6 separate regions of the Homo sapiens genome follow, and regions 1, 2, 4, 5 and 6 are each linked to region 3. Evidence: promoter capture Hi-C in 16 types of primary human blood cells and fetal thymus (Javierre and others, 2016). All regions are on one chromosome and are shown on one strand. The core of a region is centred on a gene start or on the middle of the fragment in contact, and the rest is flanking DNA. Distances in the headings are between cores, read along the strand shown. Region 1 holds the start of LOC105370460 (a long non-coding RNA gene). Region 2 overlaps LOC105370461 (a long non-coding RNA gene). Region 3 holds the start of LRFN5 (leucine rich repeat and fibronectin type III domain containing 5). Region 4 overlaps LOC105370461 (a long non-coding RNA gene). Region 5 overlaps LOC105370461 (a long non-coding RNA gene). Region 6 overlaps LOC105370461 (a long non-coding RNA gene).

Evidence for each region. Contacts are between HindIII fragments. The CHiCAGO score rates a contact against its expected background, and 5 or more counts as called.
Region 1: a fragment that was not itself captured here is called in contact with the fragment with the promoter of LRFN5 in region 3 in 3 of 17 cell types (M1 macrophages, M0 macrophages and M2 macrophages); the score reaches 8.0 in M1 macrophages.
Region 2: a fragment that was not itself captured here is called in contact with the fragment with the promoter of LRFN5 in region 3 in 1 of 17 cell types (M2 macrophages); the score reaches 6.6 in M2 macrophages.
Region 4: a fragment that was not itself captured here is called in contact with the fragment with the promoter of LRFN5 in region 3 in 1 of 17 cell types (naive CD8 T cells); the score reaches 10.1 in naive CD8 T cells.
Region 5: a fragment that was not itself captured here is called in contact with the fragment with the promoter of LRFN5 in region 3 in 1 of 17 cell types (naive CD8 T cells); the score reaches 6.2 in naive CD8 T cells.
Region 6: a fragment that was not itself captured here is called in contact with the fragment with the promoter of LRFN5 in region 3 in 1 of 17 cell types (M2 macrophages); the score reaches 6.4 in M2 macrophages.

Annotation. Positions count from the first base shown.
Region 1 is chr14:39,474,419-39,478,127 of GRCh38, reverse strand. The region is part of intron 2 of LOC105370461 (a long non-coding RNA gene); the gene reads right to left. It overlaps LOC105370460 (a long non-coding RNA gene), which reads right to left and starts at 3,288. Exons shown (of 3, transcript XR_001750731.2): 1 at 3,173-3,288. The HindIII fragment of the contact is 4,354 bases long and covers 1-3,709 here.
Region 2 is chr14:39,456,970-39,460,621 of GRCh38, reverse strand. The region is part of intron 1 of LOC105370461 (a long non-coding RNA gene); the gene reads right to left. Among named protein-coding and RNA genes, the nearest start is that of FBXO33, 26 kb to the right of the region's middle. The HindIII fragment of the contact is 9,042 bases long and covers 1-3,652 here.
Region 3 is chr14:41,605,267-41,608,736 of GRCh38, reverse strand. LRFN5 (leucine rich repeat and fibronectin type III domain containing 5) reads right to left here and starts at 1,861. Exons shown (of 6, transcript NM_152447.5): 1 at 175-1,861. The HindIII fragment of the contact is 1,232 bases long and covers 999-2,230 here.
Region 4 is chr14:39,570,021-39,573,332 of GRCh38, reverse strand. The region is part of intron 2 of LOC105370461 (a long non-coding RNA gene); the gene reads right to left. Among named protein-coding and RNA genes, the nearest start is that of FBXO33, 140 kb to the right of the region's middle. The HindIII fragment of the contact is 7,780 bases long and covers 1-3,312 here.
Region 5 is chr14:39,591,949-39,595,233 of GRCh38, reverse strand. All of the region lies in intron 2 of LOC105370461 (a long non-coding RNA gene), which reads right to left. Among named protein-coding and RNA genes, the nearest start is that of FBXO33, 160 kb to the right of the region's middle. The HindIII fragment of the contact is 651 bases long and covers 1,585-2,235 here.
Region 6 is chr14:39,439,075-39,442,325 of GRCh38, reverse strand. The region is part of intron 1 of LOC105370461 (a long non-coding RNA gene); the gene reads right to left. Among named protein-coding and RNA genes, the nearest start is that of FBXO33, 8.3 kb to the right of the region's middle. The HindIII fragment of the contact is 8,991 bases long and covers 1-3,251 here.

The DNA.
Region 1 (3,709 bases), core at 373-2,872, 2.1 Mb after region 3:
CGACAATATACAAGCAGAGAGCCAAATCATGAATGAACTCCCATTCACAATTGATACAAAGAGAACAAAATACATAGGAATGGTCCCGGTACAGTGGCTCACACCTGTAATCCCAGCACTTTGGGAGGCCAAGGCAGGCAGATCACGAGGTCAGGAGTTCGAGACCATCCTGGCTAACAGATGAAACCCCATCTCTACTAAAAATACAAAAAATTAGTCGGGCGTGGTGGTGCATGCCTGCAGTCCCAGCTACTCAGGAGGCTGAGGTAGAAGAATCGCTTGAACCCAGGAGGCAGAGGTTGCAGTGAGCCGAGATCACGCCACTGCACTCCAGCCTGGGCGACAGAGCAAACTCTGTCTCAAAAAAAAAAAAAACAAAAACCTAGGAATACAGCTAACAAGGAACATGAAGAATCTCTTCAAGGAGAACTACAAACCACTGCTCAAGGAAATAAGAGAGGACACAAACAAATGAAATAGCATTCTATCCTCATGGATAGAAAGAAACAATATCCTGAAAATGACCATACTGCCCAAAGTAATTTATAGATTCAGTGCTACTCCCATCAAACTACCACTGACATTCTTCACAGAATTAGAAAAGACTACTTTAAGTTTCATATGCAACCAAAAAAGAGCCCATATAGCCAAGACAATCCTAAGCAAAAAGAACAAAGCTGGAGGTATCACGCTACCTGACTTTAAACTATGCTACAAGGCTACAATAACCAAAACAGCCTGGTTCTGGCACCAAAACAGACATATAGACCAATAGAACAGAACAGAGAACTCAGGAATAATGCCACAGATCTACAACCATCTGATTGACAAACCTGACAAAAACAAGCAATGGGGAAAGCATTCCCTAGTTAATAAATGGTGTTGGGAAAACTGGCTAGCCGTATGCAGAAAACTGGAATTGGACCCCTTCCTTATACCTTATACAAAAATTAACTCAAGATGTATTAAAGACTTAAATGTAAAACTCAAAACCATAAAAACTCTAGACGAAAACCTAGGCAACAGCATTCAGGACATAGGCATGGGCAAAGATTTCATGACTAAAATACCAAAAGCAATTGCAACGAAAGCTAAAATTGACAAATAGAATCTAATTAAGCTAAAGAGCTTTAGCACAGCAAAAGAAACTACCATCAGAGTGAACAGGCAACCTACAGAATGGGAGAAAATTTCTGCAATCTACCCATGTGAGAAATGTCTAATATCCAGAATTTACAACGAACTTAAATTTCAAGAAAAAAATAACCCTATCAAAAAGTGGGCAAAGAATATGAACAGGCACTTCTCAAAAGACAGTATTTATGTGGCCAAGAAACATGAAAAAAAGCTCAACATCACTATCATTAGAGAAATGCAGATCAAAACCACAATGCGATACCATCTCACACCAGTCAGAATGGTGATTATTAAAAAACCAAGAAACAATAGATGCTGGCAAGGCTGTGGAGAAATAGGAATGCTTTTACACTGTTGGTGCAAATGTATATTAGTTCAACCATTGTGGAAGACAGCGTGGCGATTCCTCGGGGATCTAGAACCAGAAATACCATTTGACCCAGCAATCCTATTACTGGGCATATACCCAAAGGAATATAAATCATTCTAATATAAAGACACATGCACACGTATGTTTACTGCAGCACTACTTACAATAGCAAAGACATGGAACCAACCCAAATGCCCATCAATGATAGACTGGATAAAGAAAATGTGGTACATATACACCATGGAATATTATGCAGCCATAAAAAGAAGGAGATCATGTTCTTTGCAGGGACATACAAAGATGGAAGCCATCATCCTCAGCAAACTAACACAGGAATAGAAAACTAAACACTGCATGTTCTCACTCATAAGTGGGAGTTGAACAATGAGAACACATGGACACAGGGAGGGGAACAACACACACCAGTGCCTGCCGTGGAGTAGGGGGTGAGGGGAGGGACAGCATCAAGACAAATACCTAATGCTTGCAGGGCTTAAAACCTACACGATGGATTGACAGATGCAGCAAACCACCATGGCACATGTATACCTATGTAACTAACCTGCATGTTCTGCATATGTATCCTGGAATTTAAAGTAAAATATAGAAAAAAAAAAGATTTGTTTTCTACCTATGTATAGAATCTTATTTTCCTTAATGAAAGAATTATATTTGCTCATAGTTTTATAGAAATTTCCACAAAGTAAAACATAACAAATATTTCAAAGTAAACATGTAACAGGCCATAGTCATTGATCATAATACAATAATATTACAAATAATTTTTAAACAGCTTGAAACATCGTAATGACTTCAAAATTAAGTTTTGATCAAAGAGAAAAATTACAAATACTCTAGAGGCTACTGAAAAGGTAAATACTTTACATAAAAATGTATGGAACCCAGCAATAGCCACAGTTAGATAAAAATTTATGCCCCTAAATCCTTTCATTACGAAGAAGAATGAAACTGCAGAAACATTATCATGTTTACCTGAACTTTTTTAAGAAAAGCGAAGAGTGAATGAGTTGATCAATGAACAGTTGTAATTGGTGATATAAGGGGAAAAAGTAGTAGAATTGATAAATAATTCCAAGAGTTTTTTTAACTAAAAATATAAATAAACCCTTTATGGTACTGCTTAAAAATATAAGAGGGAAAAAAATATTAGCAAGACTAGGAATAAAGAAAAATGTACAATTTCCTAGAGAATACAAATAATCCAAATTGAACCAAGAAGCAGACCCAAAATGACTAATTAGCAAAGAAAAAAATGGAAAGGTAACCATTATTTTAAATAACAATAGTAATAATAGCATTATACCCAAAAAAACCTTTAAATCTGAGTTTTACCTAACTTTTAAAGAATGGGTATTTATAGTGTTATTTAAATTATTTCATACCAAATAAAAAGATGAAATGTTTCCCAATTCATTTCACAAAGCCAACATAATTTTATTACCAAAAGTTAACATAAAAATAAACCTAAAAACTATGAACCTAATTATTTCAGTTACTATGGCTATATTTAAAAATTACTCCAATACTTAGTAACCCAAAACAACAATATGTGGACAGGTCTCAGGGGGATACTTCATCTCTGCTCCCCTCAGCATCAGCTAGGGTGTCTCAAAGTCTGGGGACTAAAATCATACGAATACTCACCCACTAACATGTAGTTGATGTTGTCAGATAAGACTTTTGCTGGAGCCAGAACACCTACACATGGCTTCTGTAACTGTCCTAGGCCTCCTCACACTATGGGGGCTGGGTTCTTGAGTGAGCTAGGCAGAAGCAGTACTATCTTTTATGACCTCACCTTGGAAGTCCCATAGTTTCACTCCCACCACATTCTATTCAACAGTGCAAAGTACAGCCCAGGTTCAGGGGGAGGGGAAATAAACTCTAACTCTTGTTGGGAAGTGACAAAGTTTAGAAGAGCATGTGGGACCACAAATATTGCTGAGGTCAGTTTTGGAAAATGCAAAATACCACAGTCCACCCTCTAGCCACAGCAGCAAAATACACTCATGCACTCCCTCAAGACCTACAACATCAGGCTGAGGCTTGAGGTCCAGGTATGGATGAACTTCTTGGGTACAGTTCCTCAAATACAGCCCCTTACGTACAGTTCCTTGTAATCTCAAGAGCTATAAACTAAAAAAGAAAAATTATCTGCCTTAACAAACACCAAATGCACAA
Region 2 (3,652 bases), core at 432-2,931, 2.1 Mb after region 3:
GTACTGATTATGGGAGAAAGGGAGAAGAATTACAGTTTTATGGTGTTCCTGTTTGCCTGTTAGTTTAGCACATTCTGTATTAATATTAAGGTTTTGTTAACAAAATACCTGTAATTGATTATATTTGTGTACTGAAAATCTCAAATGACTCTTTAAAATACTCACTGATGACTACTTGTTCTACATTAACATCATTATCAAGTTATGTTGATAATATTCCTCACCATTTTAAAGAAAAGCAAACTTGGAGAGATTACTTGAACTTCTCAAAATAAAACACATATTTTACTGTTGTTCTGTAACCTGAATCTTGCTCAGCTGACTCCAGATACTCTTTGCACCACATGAAGTTGGCAGTATTGTTACAGATGATTGCATAATACAGTTAATGTGTGTTATATAAAAATGAGGGGAAAATTATTAATTTTGTATATAAATTGTCCTTTTCTTGTTTCAGTTACTCATTACCATATAAAAACCATCCCAAATTTAAAACATAAAGCAACCACCATTTCACTGTGGGTCTCACAGATTATGTGAGTCAGGAATTCGGAAAGGGTACAGCAGGTTGGCTTATCTCTGTTTCACAATGTCTGGGGCCTCAGGTGGGAACACTTGAAGGCTGAAAGTGACTCAAGAGCTGGGAGCTGAAATCACCTAGAAGTTCATTCATTCATATGACTGGTGGTTGATGTAGCTGTAAGCTGGGCTCTCAGCTGGGACTGTCAGTATTAATACCTACATATGGCCTCTCCATGGGCTCTTTGGACTTGCTCACATAATGGTGTCTAAGTTCCACAAACCATGTATCCAAGAAGAGAAGCTATATCATCATTTATGATATAGTCTTGGAAATCACATAGTGCCACTTCTGCTATAGTCACACTCCCACCCAGATTCAAGGAGAGAGAACAGAGACGCTACCTCTCAGTATAAAAACGCTACCTCTCAATATAAAAAGTTCAAAGTTATACTGTAAGAAAACCCAGTGGAATAGGAGTTATGGTTGTGTTCATTTTTGGAAAACACAATCCATGATACTTGTTAATTAAAGATAGTAACTAGCATGCTAAGTACACAGTATCAAGTAAGACATATTGCCTTAATACTAAATGAATAATACTTGATTAGAGAACAATTTTTAAAATCAATAATCCATAAAAAGCAATAAAAGACAAACCAGATTATCATATTATCAGCTGATGAAAACAAGTCAAATAAAATTCAGCAGTTATTCCTAATAAAAACTTTAAGAAATATAGGCCTAAAAGAAAACTATATAAATATGATAGTCTATTCACCACAGCCTACAGAAAATATACTAAACAATAAAACACTAAGTCATTTCAATTAATGTCAGGAAGCAAATAATAGAGTTCCATCACACAGGGATTTTGTCCTTTTTGTTCATTATTGAATCTCTAGCACCAATAAAGCACTTGACACACAAAAACGTGCTCAAGAAATTTTTGCAGAATAAATTGTTTTAAAAATATGAAAAAAGGGGGCAAAGGTAACAAAAAAAGCATGATAAAGAGAAATTAGACCAAAAATGAAGTAATTTATATGGACACTGAAAAGGAAATTAATGATTACATGATTATATATTTAGAAAATATACCAATGAAAGCATCCTGATTTAATAATAAGAATTTGGTAAGATGACTACAGTAAAGTTAAATTTAGAAAAATCAAGAACTTTTTTGTACTTGGAACCAGTAACCAAAAGAGGAAAAGGTGAAAATTTTTCCTCTTACAATAACAGCTAAAACTATAATAGGGGTACAGTAGTAATAAATGTAAACAAGGAAAACACAGAACCTATATGAAGAAAACAAAATCTTAACCTACATGAAGAAAACAAAACCTAATAATGTTATAACAGTTATTGTTATTTAGCCATGGAACACTGGAAAGACATAAATTGTAAAATTCATGTCAAAATTTATATGAATTCTCAAAATTCATATAAATCAAATGTAGTATTTTGTTCGTTTAATAAAATTATGTTAAAATTCATATGAAAGAAAAAATGCCTGAGAATACTCCCAAAAAGTATAAAATATAAGAAGGGTAAAGAGGGACAAACCTAATCAGACACATATAATAAAGCCTCTGCAATCAAATCAATAGGAAAAGTGGTTTGGGATTGAGCAAACAGACCATGGAAAGAGTAGCGAATACAAAAATAGATACCAGTATACAGGAGAGTTTTATATACAAAAATTCATTGGGAAAAAATAGCGTAATAAATGAGGCTGGTTATACATATGGAGAAAAGAATGGTTAATTTGATAGTGTTTGTTATCTATATGGAAAAAAAATACTGGAATGTGATATCAAACTATGTTCCAAAATTCCAGGTGGATTAAAGATTTAAATATAAAAAATTTTGGAACAATACACCCTAAATTTTTCCAAGCAAGAGAGTCAGTTAAGAACATTTGAGATGGATTTAAATATCATCTATATGTTGACAACAAATTATACATTCATACTTTTTATCTCCAGCCCAGGTTTCTCCCCTGAACTTCAGACTTCAATATTAACTACCTACTTGATAGTTTTGTTTGGAAATTTAATAGCAACAAGACTTATCATTTTACATTGTAAGTCACAATGTTTTATTTCCCTGCTCAAAACCCTCCAATGTCTATCATCCCCAGGAAAGAAAAAAAAAAATGCCCTTGCCATGGCCTAGAGGCCCCTAAATGATCTTGTCCCACTTGCTAACTCTCTGACCTCAACTCCTACTACTATTTCTTTGCTTATAATGGTCCATTCCCAATGGCCTTCTCAGTATTCTATGAATACACAAGTATGTTTCAACCTCAGGGCTTTTTCACTTGCTGTTCTCACTGCCTAGACTTGTCTTCTAACCAGACAACCACATGTTTTATTCTCTTTACTCCTTCAGATTTCTGCTCAAACATCATCTCATCAGAGAGGGCTTTCCTGACCATCCTACCTAAATGAGCAATTGCCCCCATCACCTTAACTTGTTTTATTTTCCTCTGTAGTACTTACGACCTATTATAAATTTATTTTCTGATGTGGTTTTGCTGTGTCCCCACCCAAATCTCGTCTTGTAGTTCCCACAATCCCCACATGTCATGGGAGGGTCCCGGTAGGAGGTAACTGAATCATGGGAGCAGTTACCCTCATGTTCTCCTGATAGTGAGTGAGTTCTCACAAAATCTGATGGTTTTATAAGGGGCTTTTTCCCCCTTTGCTCGGCACTTCTTTCTTCTGCCATCTTGTGAAGAAGGACGTGCTTGCTTCCCCTTCCACCATGATTATAATTCTTTATAGCAATGTGAGAACAGACTAATACACTTTCCATCTACTCTCACGAGAACACTCTGTAATGGCAGAGAATCTTTGTTCACCACTCTATCTCCAACACCTATAACAATGCATGACTCACAGTAGACACTCAATAAATAGTTATTTAGAAAGAATGAATTCCAAAAGCCAAAAAAGAAAAGATGACCATAATGTTCCACACCAAGCAAGCAGCTGATAAGGTCCATGTAGGTGTTTCCCATTTCCTTGATCCTGATTTTATTCTTCAATAAACCCATTGCTTAAACTAACTCTTTACAACTAAAACACAAATATGATTATAATCATTCCTTATATTTGTGTATTT
Region 3 (3,470 bases), core at 612-3,111:
ATTTCACCTACTAGAAATCGTATTACAAAATCACAGAGCAGGCGCCCTTGGATACCCAACCCTTCCCAATGATTTTCAAAACATTAATAAGTAAAGTAGCCTGCAATGCAGATAAGACACTAGAAACAAGATCAAAAGGAAATTGGGTGAGGCGAGTAATCGTTGGTTTGTTACCTGGTGCCTCTAAGGGAAAAGACGGTCGTAGGAAGACTTTCTGCCTGCAGGTACAATCCCGGCAAGGTGGCTCCAGGTGGCTTTCACAGTCGTACGCGGGTCTCGCTCGTCACTTCGCTGCCCTTTGCCATAGCTCAGCACCCGCATCGTAGGGAATCGGAAAGGCGGCTCCTGCCACTGCCGCCGCTGCCCGCAGGTCGCTCTGGGTGGGGGAATCGCTGCAATCGCCCCATGAAACCCGCGGCTCCGCGCCCGGGGAGCGGGCAGAGGCAGGGCGGCCGCGCACGCACACACAGACACACGCTCACACTCACACACACTCGCACCCGGGCGCGCGCGCACTTGCACTCACACTCGCACACGCACACCCAGCACTGCACGGGGAGGAAGCAGCACGGAGGGAACCGGTCCTTCTCACGATTGGCTTCGAAGCCCACCGGACCGCGGGCAGCAAAGAGAGCGTTCTCGCATAGCCCTTTAATCACGTTTCCTTCAAGTTCTCCTCCAACCCGAATCCACGTAATTCAAGAGCTGGTGACATTTTGGTGGGGAGGAGGGAGCCGAGAAAGGGCTGAGGAAGAGTCGGGGATTTTGTTAAGCAGTTTAATAAGCAATCCTCATTACCTTATTTGTTTTGTTTTGTTTTGTATAGCAAACCAGTTCGAAGGGCTGAACTTTTGGCTTCAAATGCTGTGAACCAAAACGTAAATATCCTTCTGGCCAAGAGAAGAAGGTGTAGATACACGGAAACAAGAGGGCTGCAAGACACTCTCTTGACCTTGTGATGTACCTGGAAGCAGGTTAATATTGGCGCTTTCCAAGCTTCTGGGTAAAGCGATCCACACACCTGGGTCCACAGCCCAGCAGCCGCTCCAAATCCAGCCAGGAAAATGGGTCTGGGCGTCCTCAGAGCTCTGCAAGAACCCGGGCATGAAGGGGCATCGCCGAGTTAACACATTTGCTTCTGGGCAGTTGGATAAAAGACAGTCAAATGCATCAGATAGGCGCGCGCGTACACACGCGCGCGCACACACACACGCAGCTAGCTGGAAAGCGGCTTACAAAACACTAGAGACATGCCAAGATGACTTGAAAAGGTAGCCAACATCCAGGATCTTTCCGGAACACAGAAGGGCCAGCAGGGAGGTTATCAAAGTCTTCTCAAGTCTTTCAATTCTTCCTCTCTCCTCTGAGTGTGTGTGTGTCTGTCTAGGTTTCGTTGGTCTGCCCCACCCCCGTCCAGTTGCGCTTTTTTTTTCTGATATAACGGACCGTGCAAAATGGATTATATGGGTGGGCTGTGTTCACAGCCAGAGCTCCCCAAAGTCAAGGATCCTAAGGGAGCAGCCAGCTGCTAAACAATTCACATCCTCAAGGGAAGAAGGAAAAACACGCTCAAACACACGCAAACACGCGCACACACATACATAGTCCTCCGTTCGGGCAGCTCTGCACACGCTCACCGCCTCCCTGCGCGCCGCGGAACACAGCGCCCCGCCCGCTGGCCACCGCGCTGGGGCGAGTCCGCAGTTCAGGCGCGAGGCAAGCAGCCGAGGTCCGGGGCTGCGGCCGCGGCCGGGGCGGACCCGGGAGCTGGGCTTCCCAAAGCGTCGCGTGTGGGCAACGGCGGCCTCCTGGCCGCGTGGAACTGAGCCCTGCGCTGCAGCATGAAGGCGGCGGCGGCGGCGGCGGCGGGCGCGCGGCCGTGAGCTCAGCCCGCGCTGCAGTGACGGGAGCGGCCGTGTCGGCCAGACCCCGAGAGTCCGTGAGACCCCGGCCGGGGCCGCTCCGCTGCTGTCAGCCCTCGGGCCTCCCAGCCAGACTGGTTCTGAACCGATTTATCAGGGGGTTGCGGAGAGGGCCGGCGAAGCGCCAGGAAATCCCCAGGCTGAGGAGGCGCGGGGGCGTTGCAGGAAGGGGGAAGGGAAAAGGCAGAAAACCTGGAGAATGAAAGCGAACTTCCAGGGGCGTCCCCAGCCTCCTGCAAAAGGGCAATTTGCTGATCGCCCACTTCCTCGCAGTTACGGGATAGAGAGAATCATCACTGAGTCAAGCTTCGGCTGCTTAGGGCGGTGGGAAAAGTCATTATCTATAATAACCCGCCGGAAATTTTGAGGAGAGCTACTGACTTGGGGGTTTCAGTCATCTGAGGCTGGCTTCCGCTGTCCCCTTAGTTGTGGGTGGTGATTTGCTTACTAATCAGATGGGAGCGGATTCTGAAAAGAACATTTATATTTGGGAATCAACTCAGCTCAGCATCAGACATTACGAATACTGCAGTTGGTCACATTTTACTATGTGAAGGGCAGAAAGGGAGCCCAACAGTCTTCATAAGCCAGACCTAGTCTCTAAGGTCACCGGCACAGACGCAGGGTCTAAAGCAGGAAAGAGGTGCGACTGGAAAGGAGGTTAGACAGGGCCCTGCGGGAATGGATCTGCCCGGAGCCCTCGCCTGGTTTTGCTTGAGACTCCGACAAGACTCCCAATGCTTCTCTCCCCGACCCTATCCCCACTCCCTCCATCCTGGAAAAGCCAGTGAGCAAAGTTAACTCTTTCTTCTAAGAAACCCTGAGTGAAATCTTGCTCTTCCTTTCTGCTAGAGTCCTGAAACCCTTTCGCTTCTCATTGTGGGTTCACCAGCACGTGGTCTTCGGACACTGAGAGCACCTTCGCTCTCAGCTGTGATCCTAGCTAGCCCAGACACCAGTCTGTACCCAAAGGAAGAGTAGGAAGTTGCAAAGGGAAGCTGGCTAACAAGGGCTTCTTCTGCCCTACTTGGCAAAGGCCCATACGGGTGGCCTCCGTGGATATGGAGCTCCTTCATTTTGTTCCAAAAAGAGCTCTGCCAGGCTTTACCATTGCCCTGGAGGTGCACAGGCGCCCGTATACTCGAGCACAACCATGGGCTCACCCCAAGCGCGCACACCTGCACCCACGCGTAAGGAAGAACCACACAGCTATCTCTGTCGGGGAAGAACACGAGGAGTGAAGTGCTTTAGGTGGAAACTCCTCACATCTCCTTTCTTTCCTCTGCTCCCCCTCTCTGCCCCTGGTACTCCGGATCCAATCCTTGGCTTAGGAATCCACTCAAGCCACGTCTGGCTGCTTTGTTCCAGAGGAGCGCAGCTCCGAGACTGCACTTCAGCGGTGCAGCCTCCCTCCAGGTCGGCGAGCGGCGCCAGATCCGGGACTTCAGGGTCTCCGCGGGAGCTTAGGAGGCTCAGGATCTGAGTTGGAGAGCTGGAAGGCCAAACTCCGAGCCGCTGAGGGACTGCGCAGGAAGACCACAGAAATAA
Region 4 (3,312 bases), core at 192-2,691, 2.0 Mb after region 3:
TCTTCAAAAAAATGAAGAGAAGGAAACACTTTCACACTCATTCTACAAGGCCAGCATTATCCTGATACCAAAACAAGACAAGGATACAATTAAATAAAGAAAACTACAGGCCAATACCACTGATCAGCATAGATGCCAAAATTTTCAACAAAATACTGCAAGCCAAATTCAACAATATATTAAAAACATCATTGACCATAATGAAGTAAGATTCATCCCAGAGATGCAAGGATGGCACTACATACACAAATGATAGGTCACATTAACAGAATCAAGAACAAAAACCATATGGCCATTTGAATAGATGCCAAAAAAGCATTCAATGAAATTTAACATCCTTTTATAATTTTTTAAAAACTGGGTATAGAATGAACATACCTCAAAATAATAAAGGTCATATATGACAAACCCACAGCCAACATCATACTGAACAGGAAAAAAATGTCTTAGAGGAAAGACTTCAAAAAACATCTAAGAACAAGACAAGAGCGCCCACTTTACCATTTTTATTCAGCATAATACTGAAGTCCTCACGAGAGTAATTAGTCAAGGGAAAAAAAATGAAGAACATTCAAATTGGAAAGGAGGAAGTTATATTAGCCTTGCATGCAGACAACATCATCTTATATTTAGCAAAACCTAAAGACTTCACTAAACAAACAAACAAAAACCATGTTAGAGCTGATAAATGAATTCAGTAAGGTTGCAGGACACAAAATCAACAAAGATCCTTGGATTGTATACTTCAACAGCAAACAATCTGAAAAAAAAATTAAGAAAGCCATCCCATTTAGAATAGTTACAAAGAGCTTTAAATACCTAGGAATCAATTGAGCAAAGATGTGAATGATTATACAAAGAAAATTATAAAACTATGATGAAAAAAATTAAAGAGGACAAAAAAATGGAAAGATAGTCCATGCTCATGGATTAAAAGAATCGATATTATTAAAATGACCATTCTACCCAAAGAAATTGACAGATTCAATGCAATCCTTATCAAAACCCCAATGTCATTCTTCAAAGAAACAAACAAACAAAAAAAACTAAAATGTATATGGAACCAAAAAGAGAGCCAAAGAAACCCTGAGGGAAAAAAATGAAGCTAGAGGCATCACACTACCTGTCTTCAAAATATACTACAAAGCTATGATAACCAAATCAACATGGTACTGTCTTAAAAATACATAGACCAATGGAACAAAATAGAGTACTCAGATATAAATCCATGCATTTACAGCCAATTCACTTTCAACAAAGGCTCCCAGAACATACAGTGGGGCAAGGACAGCCTCTTTAATAAATGCTTCTGGGAAAACTGGATATCCATATAGAGAATAAACCTAGTCACTTATCTCTCACTATATACAAAAATAAAATCAAAATGGATTGAAGACTTAAATCTAAGACTTGAAAATACGAAAACATTAGAAAATGTTGGGGAAATGCTGCAGGACATTGGCCTGAGCAAAGATTTTTCTTGTGTAAAACTTCAAAAGCACAGGCAACAAAAGCAAAGAAGACAAATAGGATTACATCAAGCTAAAAGGCTTCTGCACCACAAAGGAAACAATCGTAAAGTAAGGAGACAACCCACAGAATAAGAAAAAATATTAGCAAACTATTCATCTGACAAGGAATTAATAACCAGAAAATATAAGGAGCTGAAACAACTCAATTGCAAAAAAGAAATCCAATTAAAAATTGGGTGAAAGAGCTGAATAAATATTTATAAGAAGACATTCAAATGGCCAAAAAGTATTTTTTTAAAAGTTCAATATCACTAATCATCAGAGAAAAGCAAATCAAAACCACAGTGAGATATCATTTGACCCCAGTTAGAGTGGCTTTTATTAAAAAAAACAGGCAATAATGGATACTGGCAAGGATGTGGAGAAAAGGAAACCCTTGTACATGCTGAGGAATGCAAAGTACAGCGACTATAGAAATCAGTATGGAGGTTCCTCAAAAAATTGAAAACAGAACTATCACGTGATCTAGTAATTCCACTACTGGGTATATAGCCAAAAGAAATGAAACAATATATCAATAAAATATCTGCACTCCCATGTTTATTGTAGCATTAATCCACAATAGGCAAAATATGGAATCAACCTAAGTACCTATCAATGGATGAATAAAGAAAATGTGGTTTTATATATATACAATGGAATGTCATTCAGCCATTAAAAATAATAAAATCCTGTCATTTGCAGCAACATGGATGGAAGTAGAGGTTATTATGTTAAGTGAAATAAGCCAAACACAGAAAGACAAATATTGCACATTGTCATTCATATATGGGAGCTAAAAATTGGATCACATGAAGATAGAGTGGATTAGTGGTTATCAGAGGCCAGGAAGGGTCAGTGAGGAAGGGATGAATAGAGGTTAATTGACAGGTACAAATATGCCATTAGAAACAAGAAATAAGACCTGGTGTTTGATGTATCAGTAGCGTGATGCTACAAACATTAATCTATTGTGCATTTCAAAATAGCTAGAAGAGAATAATTTGCATGTTTCTAGCATAAAGAACAGATAAATATATAAGGTGATGAATATTCCAATTACCCTGACTTAGTTATATGAATGTATCAAATTATCACAAGTAGCCTGAAAATATGGACATCTATTATTTATCAATTTTTAAAAAAAGACCTAGTGTTCAATAAATCAGTAGGTTGACTAGAGTAAACAATAATGTGGTGTATATTTCAAAATAGCTGGAAGAGAATAATTTGAACATTCCCAGCATAAAGAAAAGGTAAATGTTTAAAGTAATAAATACACCAATTACCTTGATTTGATCGTTACATATTAATGTATCAAAATATCATATGTATGTCTATTATGTGTCAATTTTAAACAGAAAAGAAAAAAATGCTCAAGTCACCTTCACAAGCATGCTTACATAAGCTCTAGTCTCCCTGCATGCAACCACCACATCAGGTGACTTGGCTCCAGTTGCAGTCTTGTACAACTCTGCAGCAGCTATGGAACCTAGGAACATAATTCATCACTTCCTAGGTGAAGATCAATCTAGCAGAAGATTGGAATGGGTATTGAGTGAGCCAGCCTATAGTATTTGCCACAACCTACTTCCTATGTTTTGATTTTCTCCACCTTATGAAGGAAGGTATGAGGTAAGTGGCAGAGACTGCCACACACTATAAAAAAGAAAATGCCACATACTCACCTCCTTAGTGGCCCTGGCAGCAAGAGCATGGACTTAAGACCCACTTTGCACTTATCAAATGCATCGCTTGGATCTTGAACTGTAAAGAAGTGATGCAAAGTAGGGGACAATGT
Region 5 (3,285 bases), core at 661-3,160, 2.0 Mb after region 3:
TTCTCAGCACCACATCGCACTTATTCTAAAACTGATCACATAATTGGAAGTAAAACACTCCTCAGCAAATGTAAAAGAACAGAAATTATAACAAGCAGTCTCTCAGACCACAATGCAATCAAATTAGAACTCAGGATTAAGAAACTCACTCAAAACTGCACAACTACATGGAAACTGAACAACCTGCTCCTGAACAACTACTGGGTAAATAATTAAAATAAGGAAGAAATAAATAAGTTCTTTGCAACCAATGAGAACAAAGACACCATGTGCCAGAATCTCTGGGACACGGCTAAAGCAGTTTTTTGATGGAAATTTATAGCACTAAATGTCCACAGGAGAAAGCGCGAAAGATCTAAAATCAACACCCTAACATCACAAAAGAACTATAGAAGGAAGCAAACGAATTCAAAAGCTAGCAGAAGACAACAAATAACTAAGATCAGAGCAGAACTGAAGGAGATAGAGACACGAAAAACCCTTCAAAAAAATCAATTAATCCAGGAGCTGGTGTTCTGAAAAGATTAACAAAATAGACTGCTAGCCAGACTAATACAGAAGAAAAAAGAGAGAAGAATCAAATAGACACAATAAAAAATGACAAAGGGAGATCACCACTGATCCCACAGAAATACAAATGATCATCAGAGAATACTATAAACCCCTCTATGCAAATAAACTAGAAAATCTAGAAGAAATGGATAAATTCCTGGATACATACACCCTCCAAAGACTAAACCAGGAATAAGTCGAATCCCTGAATAGACCAATAACAAGTTCTGAAATTGAGGCAGTAATTAATAGCCTCCCAACCTAAAAAAGTCCAGGACCAGACAGATTCACAGCCGAATTCTACCAGAAGTACAAAGGGAACTAGTACCATTCCTTCTGAAACTATTCCAAACAATAGAAAAAGAGGGAATCCTCCCTAGCTCATTTTATGAGGCCAGTATCATCCTGATACCAAAACCTGGTAGAGACACAACAAAAAAAGAAAGTTTCAGGCCAATATCCCTGATGAACATAGATGTGAAAATCCTCAATAAAATACTGGCAAACCAAATCCAGCAGCACATCAACAGCTTATCCACCTAGATTTGAGATTTTAATCTGCTTTCGACTGCCTGATTATCCACTGCCACAGGCACCAGCTCTATTTGACTCAACAAGCATTTCAAACTTCTCCGTATGCCAGGAATTTTGCTAGGTATTGAGTATAAAAACACAAATAAAACAAGGTGTATTTTTATGTGCTTGTAACATTGGAATGCTTGAAAAATGGAAGTTACATTACAGGTACATGTTTACAAAGTAATGTAAAAGAAGACTTTGTAACAAGGTGCAGGATAGCTGCAGAGGGGTTATTAGGAAAAACCCCTGAGAAATATGGCACATCCTTTCCAGCCCATAGTGTCTGAACAGAGGAACCAGGTCACCAACTTGAGCTCATCACCATTCTTTATGATCCAGGCAACTCTCTCCTGTGCCCTGCTCTGAACATAACATAACAACATTGTCCCTGCCCTAAAGGCTAACAATTCAGGCAGGTGAGACAGCTTGTTCTGACACACTCCTAAATAAGCTTCAAATGTACAAGAGAAAAGCCAGATCAAATCTAAGGAAACAGTGTCAGAAACACAGTAAATCTATGATGACTAACTGACCTAACTTATGACCTATAAAAATCATTTTTCTTCCAAGACAACTAATGTAGTCATAGCCACCACTGTGCCAAACATACAGCTTGATAAATCAATTTAGCCTAAACCAGTACATGGTCCAAACATAATATGGCTTTAAATAACTTTGAAAAATATTTCTAGCGTCTCGAGAGAATTTGCATATTTTTAGATGAGATTTGCATTGCATCTTAAAAATACTTCATTAATTCAACAAATAACTACTGAGTTCTTGGTACATGTACAACACTGTGGAAGGTATTAGCAGGCATAAATAAAAAAGCTCTGCCCCTGAGGCATTTACTACGAAAAACAAAATTTACAGAGTTAGAATCTAATATTTATTACTTGCTCCTGATTGCATGTATTTAGCCTAATTACATAATTAGATGCAATCATGCTGAAAACAAAAGAGAGACTGAATTTTATTTTAAGAAAGCTCTCTTGAGACACAAGATGAGAAAAAAATCAGTAAGTAAGCCAAATGCCAGGAACCAAAAATTCAATCTAAACTATCAATACCAAAAAAGACCACAAAAGGCCAACCGTAAAAGCTTGTGTCTGAGGGTAAAATGAAGAGGTCATCATAGACTATATAGAAAGAAACTGTAGTGTGTGAAGTACTGTGAAACTTTATGTATGGAAAAAAACCTGAAAGATCATCTAATACAAGTCCATGATTTTATGAATTTAAATAATTAATATACTGGACACTTTGTTAATTAGTTTCTAAGGAGACTCTGATCCCTGTCACACAACTAAGCATTTGCTTTCTCCACCATATATGCCAAAAAATTCACATTTTAAAAGCCTTAACATATTACACCTTCTCTTTACAGTGTCTGAACTCCCTTAATTCTAAATACAGAGAACATAACAAAAGACATACTCAAATTACCAATGTGCTGGCCAGTGAGATGCCACATCATTGCCATAGTGGGAAGGGTCATGGTGCAAAGCTCAGCCCTCTGGCTGATTCAGTGCAACCCTTCCCTCCCATCCAGTTTCCTACACCCTATTCTAGAAGGTAGAAATAGTATAACCCTTGGCATGTCTCACACACTGAAGTCATTTTCTCAGGCACTTGAACTGGGCCCTGTAACAGTGCCAACCATCCCTAGCAAATCTGGGAGTAGGGCCTGGATGCTACAACTCAATGCTCTCTGCTTCCTGCTTCTGCAACATCTTCAAAGCCCTCCAGCCCCGCACCTGTTCTGCTGTCTCTGTGTTAGTGAGCTTTTCCATAAGGCAGAATCCTTTCTGTTTCTTTACTTTTAGCTGCCTGGGAAACGTCCTTCTCCAATTACCATGAGTTGTTGGAACAGACAGCATCCTGCTGCTGCCTTGAGACACTGGAATGGTTCTTTTGTTACAGACAGCACTGATTCTTAAAATGAAGATTTCTGCCTTCTTTAGCCTCTCCTCATATTTCAGCCTCCTCTCCCTGCCTCACCCAGCCCCCGAATAATACATCCCATCAGCCTAAATCCTTGTCCTTGGAAAAATCAGGCTATTCCTCTCACTATTTGCATCCGCCTCCTCACTCAGCCTGTTTAACCTCAGTCTCGTGTTTCTCTTCAATTTTTATCAAATAGTTATTCACACT
Region 6 (3,251 bases), core at 181-2,680, 2.2 Mb after region 3:
CAGCTTCTGCTGCAAAGACCAGTGTCTCGATGAGGGGAACAAGGTGGCGCCCAAAAGCCCGGAGATGCCAGGAACCACAGAGCATCCAAAGAGGGTGTTATAGCATGTCACAGCTCTGGCTTAGGAAGCCCCAAGGTCTGGGCTTCCAGAAGGGCTACAGCTCTTCTCTCCTTCTCATTGCCTGCAGTGCAGAGAGCAGGGGATGGCAGCAAGTTTCAGTGGGGAGTGTTTAAGCCCATTTGTGTTATAGCTCTTTCAGTCCCACCACCACAACTGCAGCCCGTGGCTGGCCCAGCCCCACTGCTGCTTCCCACTGCATGGGGCGGCCACCCGGCGCCAACAAAGGGTGGAAGTGCTACAGTGTTACAGCAGCTCTACCTCAGGAAATCCCAAGGTCTGGGTCCCCAGAAGGGTTACCACTCTTCACTCTCATAGTCCAGGAGCGTGTCACTGCCTGCAGCTTGGCAAGCGGGCCAGGAAAGCATTACAGCTCCTTTCACACCTACCATTCAGTGATATCCTAGTTCTTGTCCCATGTCCATGAAGAATGAGGTAACATGGACAACTGGAAGGTGAACAAGGCAGAGATTTATTGAGCAACAGAACAGCTCTCAGTAGAGAGAAGACGTGTAGTGGGTAGCTCCTTTCCACTGGCAGGTCATCCTGAAGAGTATCTGAGTCTGCATGAGTCTAGGGTTTTTATGGGCTCAGAAGGGAGGAAGTGCATGCTGATTGATCCATGGGTAGCCATGGGCAGGCATGGAAAAAGCACCGTAAGTTCTCACTCTGGGCCGCGGACTCCACCCGTAATTGGCAGCCTGGCCCCCAGGCTTCAGGCCATCCCTGGCTTCAAGACGGGGTTTCACCAAGGACCTGCCCCTTCCCACCTAGGAATCTGTCTGCCTCCTGTTGCCATCAACATGCCATTTGTGCCCAGGCTGTCCATGCTGAGGGGAGCCCACAGGCCCACACCAAGCTGCCCTCAGCACCCCCGGTCTCCCTCTTGAGTTCATCAGTGCCCAAAGTTTCAGAGTTTCAGCTCCCTCTGAGCTCATCAGTGCTCAAGGCGGCAGTGGGAGTTGGTGTGTCAGTGTTGCCCCAGGCATGCACACACCTGGCTGGGTCACGACAGTGCCTGGGCTAAGCTATAACTTTGCTCCACACCAGAGTGGAAACTGAGAGCAGGGAGAGGCCAGGGAGAGTGGGAGCAGGCACTTCCGAACTTGCGGGGGCAAGAGGCTCCCTGGGCCCCAGAGAGCACAGGGATGCCCAGGTCTGGAGCCATGGCTGGGTGGTTACAGCTGCACCTAGAAGTGCAGGCTCCTGCCCCACCAATTTGGTAGAGTGTGAGGCTTCCACTGGGATCACCTGTTCCCACCCCCTACGGGCTCCACAGAGGGCACAGCCCCAGGTGCACCCCCTCCTACTGCAGCGGCCTTCACCGCAGCAGCTGCTCCAGATGAGCCGCCACCATCACTAGGAGGAAGCTGCAATTGAGATAAAAGCTGTCCTGTGCACTGAAACCTTAGAGATTCTGGGTTCAGTGCACCTGAGGAACTATCTCTAAGGAACATTAAGGAAAGAGTGAGAAGGTTAGCTAGGAATAGAGATTAACTAAAGATCTGAATACAAGAAAACTATACTAAACAAATCCACCGTTTTCTTCCATCTCTGTCCACAGCAAATACAAGGACCCTAGTATTTACCTTCAGCCAAAAATAGTAATAAAAGGATAGGCCTCCTTTGTGGCAAAACTTCATCTCTCAGACCCTTTATGTCTAGGCAAGACCATGTGTCTAGTTTTAGCCAATGAATGTAGGAAGTAATCTGTCATTTCCTTGCTACGGCAATTAAGAAGTGCCTTCTCCATTCTCTCTTCCCCTTCCATTACAAGAGACAGAGAATCACAGGGCATTTTAAGGATGGTATAACTATAAAACAGAAGGAATTAGGGTCACTGAATCATCACATGAAGGAAAGCCGCCTGCTAAGAACACCTTCAGTGGACAGTTAAAGGAGTGAAAAAATACACGGCTATTTTGTTGACATTAAGATCTTCAGGTTTCCCTTTTATAGAAACTAGCATCTTTATTAATTAGAGCCCTTCTTATAAACGAAAGACAGGAAAAATTAACTTTACACAAATCGTAAGACCCAAATCCAACATCAATAATCATGGGAGAAAGTATGCTTTTTCCATAAAGGTGGGTAAAGGGGAAAAAAGTGAATATTTGCCTAATATTTATCTAACATACTATAATCTAGCCAATTATAGACAGAAGATTGTGACTGCTATGTAGCAAAAGCTGATTAATGTAAGAACAACCAAGAGGCTGGACACGGTGGCTCATGCCTATAAACCCAGCACTTTGGAAGGCTGAGGCAGGAAGATTACTTGAGGCCAGGAGTCCAAAACTAGCCTGACCAACATGGTGAAACCCATCTCCACTAAAAATACAAAAATTAGCCAGGTGTGGTGATGCACACCTGGAGTCCCAGCTACTCAGGAGGCTGAGGCAGGAGAATTGCTTGAACCAGAAGATGGAGGCTGCAGTGAGCCAAGATCACATCACTATACTCCAGCCTTGGCAATAGAGCAAGACTCCATCTCCAAAAAAAAAACCAAGAGAAAAACAAAATATTACGATTATCAAATATTGGTAGGAATATGGAAGAGGGAAAGAGAGTAATGTAATTGAAATACATCTTCATATTTTACAAAAAGGGAGTAAACAGATGATGTCTAAAGTTAATCAGTTAAAAAGCACAGGTAGCGGCTGGGCCTAGTGGCCCATACATGTAATCCTTGCACTATGAAAGGCTAAGGTGGGAGGATTGCTTAAGGCCAGGAGTTGAAGACCCCATCTCTACAAAAAATTTAAAAATTAACCAGGTGTGGTGGTGCCTGCCTATAATCCTAGCTACTTGGGAGGCTGAGGCAGGAGGATTGCTTGAGCTGGGAGGTTGAGGCTGCAGTGAGCCATGATCCTGTCAATGCACTCCAGCCAGGGCAACAGAGTGAGACCTGTTCTCAAAAAAAAGAAGAGAAAAAAGTGTAAGTAAAGGCATATAATTTGAAATTACCTAAAGAGGCATCCAAATAGGAAAAGATGTCAAACTATCTCTCTTTGCTATCAGTATAACTGTATATCTAAAAAACCGTAAAGACTCCACCAAAAGGCTCCTGGAACTGATAAATGACTTTGGTAAAGTTTCAGGATACAAAATCAATGTACAAAAATCAGTAGCAT